Linked DNA regions of Homo sapiens: region 2 is linked to region 1. Evidence: promoter capture Hi-C in 16 types of primary human blood cells and fetal thymus (Javierre and others, 2016). All regions are on one chromosome and are shown on one strand. The core of a region is centred on a gene start or on the middle of the fragment in contact, and the rest is flanking DNA. Distances in the headings are between cores, read along the strand shown. Region 1 holds the start of PLCG1 (phospholipase C gamma 1). Region 2 has its middle 79 kb from the start of CHD6.

Evidence for each region. The method cuts DNA at HindIII sites, captures the fragments that hold promoters and counts their contacts. A CHiCAGO score of 5 or more calls a contact.
Region 2: a contact is called between a fragment that was not itself captured here and the fragment with the promoter of PLCG1 in region 1, in 4 of 17 cell types (naive CD8 T cells, activated CD4 T cells, total B cells and 1 more). The highest score is 9.7, in naive CD8 T cells.

The regions. Positions count from the first base shown.
Region 1 is chr20:41,136,093-41,138,792 of GRCh38, forward strand. It overlaps PLCG1 (phospholipase C gamma 1), which reads left to right and starts at 1,451. Exons shown (of 32, transcript NM_002660.3): 1 at 1,451-1,766. The coding sequence starts at 1,550. It overlaps LOC124904903 (translation initiation factor IF-2-like), which reads right to left and starts at 1,421. Exons shown (of 2, transcript XM_047440629.1): 1 at 1-1,421. The coding sequence starts at 1,247. The coding sequence ends at 666. PLCG1-AS1 (PLCG1 antisense RNA 1) reads right to left here and starts at 1,908. Exons shown (of 7, transcript NR_109889.1): 1 at 1,622-1,908. RefSeq lists enhancers at 1-750, 1,535-2,319, 2,241-2,340, 2,489-2,568 and silencers at 721-1,710, 1,831-2,090. The HindIII fragment of the contact is 8,103 bases long and covers 409-2,700 here.
Region 2 is chr20:41,696,463-41,699,162 of GRCh38, forward strand. No RefSeq gene overlaps it. Among named protein-coding and RNA genes, the nearest start is that of CHD6, 79 kb to the left of the region's middle. The HindIII fragment of the contact is 500 bases long and covers 1,093-1,592 here.

The DNA.
Region 1 (2,700 bases), core at 201-2,700:
TAAATCCAGGCAAAACCAAACTGATAGATCCAGGCAAAACCAAACAAGGTGAGTAGTCTGGGTGACAGGAGATGGGGCCTTCAGCTTGTGGGCTGAGTGACAAGGTCTTGATGGATTGGAGGTGAGGCAAAGGGAGGAATCAAAGTTAGCTGCAAGGTTTTTGACCTTCCAACTTAGAGAAGTTTAGCGCCGCGTTCTGAGAAAGTGAAGACTGTGGAAGGAATCGTTTGGGGAGGGAAGGCGAGCTGTCTAAGGGGGGGGGATGTGGAACATGCAGTGGGATGCTGGGGCCTGGAACGTAGGGGAGATGCAGGTTTGGAGTCACCGGTGCCTGTGTTGTTGGGCAAAGCCAGGGGAAAGGTCAGGTCGCCTTGGGATCTGGCCTAGCACTGAGTGCAGAGGAAGAGAAGCTTCTGAGATCGAGAGGCAGCGGCTACAGGAGGAGGAAGAAAGCAAGGCGGGGAAAACCAAAGTTCAGGAGAGCATTTGCAGGAGGGCGCTGCGGGGTAGGGTCTGAGTCGGAGCCCCGAATCGGACTCGAGTCCTGTCGCGTGGGGACGGAGCGTGCAGAGGCCCATGCGAGGGACAGACACAAAGGCCCTGGGAGCTGCAGGTCAGACCACTGGACAGCGCGGCCGCGGACCTAACGCCCCTGTAAGGGGTGCTCACGCTTGGGGGGAACTCTCCGAAAGAGAGGACCACTGAAAGCCACCCTGGCAGCAGGGGCGGAACAGACAGACGTGGGTCTGGCCGTCGCCAGAACTGCCTGCGGACCAGCCCCGCGCTGCCGGGGGGGCGGGACATGTCGGCTGTCCATCAGTGCCCGCGACCAATCCGCAGGCAGCCCCGCCCCCGCCCCTCCCGGGAGAGGGCGCGCGGAGGACCCGCCGCCGCCGGTGTGAGGCGGCCCGTCCTGGCTCCCTTGTCCGGGAAGCCCGCCCAGGTAACTGAGTTTGGCCGGGCATTCCCGGAGGACGCGCCATCCCCTCACGTCCCGTCCCGGTCGCTGCATGGGCGGTGTTCGGGACGCGGGGGCTGCGTCTGTGCGGGACCGCGGGGTAGCGGCCGCCCGTGCGAGTACGCCTGACTGACGCGCCGGCCGCCGGGCCTGCGGCCTGTGGGCGGGGCTGCCGTGCGTGACAGGGCCGCTCGTGGCCGCCGGGCTGTGTCCGGGGCCGCGTGAGAAAGCTCTGCGGGACTGAGGGCTGGGTGGGTCGACCGGGAACGGCGCGCGCTCCCGCCGCCATCGCGCCTCCGTCCCCGCCTGCGGCCTGTCTGGGGGTCGCGGGGCGCAGGCGCGGCGGGCCGACGGGCGGGGGTCCTCCCCACGGGTGCGCGGGCGCCTTTGTTCCCGGCGCCGAAGCGGGGTGGGGCCTCAGGGCAGCCCCGCCCCGCCGCGCTGAGGCCCCGCCCCGTGTCCGCCTGCAGGAGCCGCCGCCGGGTCCCGCTCGTCTGCCGCCTCAGCCTCAGCCCCAACCTCAGCCGCCGCCGTTGCGCTTGCTCCCGGGCGGTCCTGGCCTGTGCCGCCGCCGCCCCCAGCGTCGGAGCCATGGCGGGCGCCGCGTCCCCTTGCGCCAACGGCTGCGGGCCCGGCGCGCCCTCGGACGCCGAGGTGCTGCACCTCTGCCGCAGCCTCGAGGTGGGCACCGTCATGACTTTGTTCTACTCCAAGAAGTCGCAGCGACCCGAGCGGAAGACCTTCCAGGTCAAGCTGGAGACGCGCCAGATCACGTGGAGCCGGGGCGCCGACAAGATCGAGGGGGCCAGTAAGTGCGCCCACTTCCTGCCTGGGCCCGCCCCGCGCGGGGGTCGTGGGAGCCCGGCCCGACTGCTTGCACCCCGGCCGGCCGCCCCAGCGACTTGGGCAAACTTTCGGGCCCTCCCAGACTCCCTCCGGGCCCCGCCCCCGCTTCGTCTCGGGTGGTCACTGGGGGCGGGGGGCATCCGGGTCCTCGGTCACCTGACAGGACACCCCCCCTCCCCCAGCTGGGGGGAGTGTTCCAGGCGCTTTGCCCTGAGGCCTAAAAATCCTCGCGGGCTGGAGACCTGCGGTGCAGGCATCGGGCCCCCCAGACCCTGGGAGTGGTGGCGGCGTCGGCGAGGGGAGCTAAGGCAGTGGCCCCCACCCTGCACGGGAACCTGGGGCCTGACCAGACGGTCCCCGCCCACTCTTTATCCAGAAAGAGCAGTCTGTGAAACTCTCCGGGCCCCCAGGCTGGGCTCTTATTTGCAAAGGAATCTTTGGGTTCCCTAAGTAGAACTTAGGCAGATGTTGGGTAGGGCTGGTCTTGGAGCAGAGCTGGGCCTACTCATCTCCCTCTGGGGGAGAGGGAGGAAGGTGGTCTTGTTTGGTTTGGAGAAGCCTGAGAGAAGCCAGTGGCTGGAATTTTTTTTTTTTTTTTTCTGCTACTTTTGTCCCAAAGCTGGGTTTTGGAGGCCTATGTGGGTGGGCAGACACTCAATGCCAGGGCAGGGACTCCCCTTGCCCTGGGAAGCACGTTCCCAGGAGATGGGCCCCATAAAGGCCTGCCCCAGCGCCTTGGAGTCAGGTATTCTTCTCAGGAGTGCAGCTAGTTTGTGAGTCTAGCCCTTTGTCCTCTGTCCGGTGGCTTCAGGGAGCGGGAGCGGCTTCTCTTAGTTTCCTGCCTTTTCGCCTTCCCAGGCCTGAGCTTGGCTGCTTTTGCGCTGGTCTCTAGTGGG
Region 2 (2,700 bases), core at 93-2,592, 560 kb after region 1:
TTCTGATCTCAAAGGTTGAGCCCCTCAATATTCCTTCTGTTCTTTTTGCCCCATCTGGCACCCGTTACTAGCACAGAAGCCCGGAAAGTTTAAGAAACAACTTCTGTCTCTGGTGTGTCATTTGTACCTCTGAGGACATCAACTTGGAACAGCCATTGTACCAGAGTTCTGTCTTTTCCAGGAATCAGTGACTCATATCAGTCTCTGCTGATATCAGCTGCTGAAGGGCTTAGGAGAACTGGTAGGACTCAGAGGAGCAGAAAATCCAGGAAAGGGCACTCTTGGCCAGTGCTGTTTAATAGAACTCTTTCAGATGAGTAAAATGTTCCATATTTGTGCTTTCCAGTATGGGAATGTCTCAAGTTCCTTTTTAGACAGTATCTCCAGCCCCCTCATTGGTTCCTGACTTCAGGCTGTTTCCAAGACATTCAACTTGAGACTACAGATCCCTGGGCTAGGTCTTCAAGGGCCCTCCAGATCCAAGCTATGCCTCAGTTTTAGCTGAAGTTGTGTCCAAGAACACAGGTCAGGGTACAGGGAGATGGGATACGTATAGCTCCAGACATGGCCAGTGCATTGTTGATATTGCCACCCCAGCAAACTGCCTAGAACTTGGCCCAGAGCAGATGCTAGGTTAACATGGTAGATGAGTGAATTTACTTTCTCTTCCCCAGATTGGGGCTCCCTCACCTACTGCCATTGGCTTCTGGAATCCTTCTCTATCATTGTGAACTGATGACTTGCCACATGGTGAAGATTAACGAAGCCAGTGCTTTGAACCACCACCCTGACATTTTGGGGGTAGGTCAGGGGGGTAGCTACAAAACCAGCTAGTAATAATTCATTGAAAATATGCTGGATCCAGCATTTTTATGTAATGACCTCATTTTTCTTGTGAAACCCTGTGTGCAAAATGAAAGCCCAAATGAGCATCTGCTATATACAGTTAGGAGTAGGGTGGTGCTGGGGAAAGAGGACTGATCTAGGAGTTACCCTGGACCTGGGGCTCATAGGCTGTATGACCTTGAACAAGATGCTCAATGCTTCTGTGCCCCAGTTTTCTCTCAAGTAAAATAAAAACATTGGACTCTAAGCTTCTTTCTACAGTTAATGTGAATGTTTAAAAAATGGCTGGTCACATCTGTGATCAACCTACATTAAGCACCTTTCAAGTGATTACTTGCTTCAATTAGGTCCATTTTCATTGTTTACTTTTACTAACAGTTTTTTTTCTTAACCCTTCCACTTCCAGTGCCTTCCTCATTCTTCACTATTTTTTGATTGTTTCTTCAGATTCTGATAAATCATCTTCATTTCCAGCCATTGAATCACCTGCTCCTTGGCCCTGCCTAGAGGCTCTTTAATCCTCAGCAGTTTCAATTTCCTGACAAAGCACACAGAGGGGGCCCGGTCTCCCTCCTCTTCCCTTGCCCACTACTCACCACTCTCCCATCTAAAACACATCTGAAAAATCAGGGAGGTTTCTATTCTGGCAGTTGTCTCTCTCACCACTAGATGGCACATGCAGGTCATCAGTCTTTTGGGCAAAAACTAATTTTATTGTGTATTTAAACTCCATCTCAATCCACAAAAGCTTTGAGGGGAATTACAAAAGTACAAAATATACAAAAGGATAAGACAAAAAGTTGAGGTAGCTGGAGAAAATAGAAAACAAGTGGAAGAAATAACTCCAGGATGACATTAGCTCAAAAAGATCAACACCAGCAAAGGCTTACACATTTGGCTCCGAGCTTCCAAATGGCCAAAGTAAAGAGGGAAATGTGAGTGGTAATAAAATTCTAGATTTTATGTGAGAAAAACAAATATTTGGGAGAAGCTCAACTTTTCCTGACCCTGAGACCAAAGAGATATTTTTCCCGTGGGTCAGCTGACTGAACAGTGATGCAATACAGCGGTGACTTAATTGGAGCTGTTTCTTATAATGTCCTTTTATGCAGGCCTATGGCATGACGCTCAAGTATAATTGAGGAAAAGCAGTTCTACTGGGCTTAAAACATGAGTTTCCAGGACAGAGTAAATTCACTGTTTGTTGTGGGCCTCCGTAGTTTGAAACAGTGAAATCTGCACACCTCCCTGTTCCAGAGTTTAGGTGGAGTTTGGGGGAGAGGGGGTTCTTCTTGGAGACTGTGGTAAGCAGTTTCTAAGAGGGCCACCAATGATCCTGCCTCCTGGTTTTCAAACCCTATCTGGTCCCCTCCCATGTAGCAGCAGTAATGGTCTGTGTCACCAGCAGAATGCAGGAGAAGCAGGGCCGGGCATAGTGGCTTATGCCTATAATCCCAGCACTTTGGGAGGCCGAGGCAGGAGGATTGCTTGAGCCCAGGAATTAGAGACCAGCCTGGACAACAAAATGAGACCTCGTCTCTACAAAAAATACAAAAACTAGCCAGGCATGGTGGTGTGAGTCTGTAGTCCCAGATACTACGGAGGCTGAGGCGGGATAATTGCTTAAGCCCAGGAGGTTGAGGCTGCAGTGAGCTGTGTTCATGCCATTGCACTCCAGCCTGGGTGACAGAGCAAGACCCTGTCTCGAACAAACAAACAAAAACAAAAACACCCCACCAAAAACAGAATACAGGAGAAATTATGGTATGTCACTTCTCAGATCAGGTTAAAATACATCATAGCTTCTCTCTTGGTCTCTCTGTCTCTGGTTTTGTCTCTCTCTTTCTGTCATGC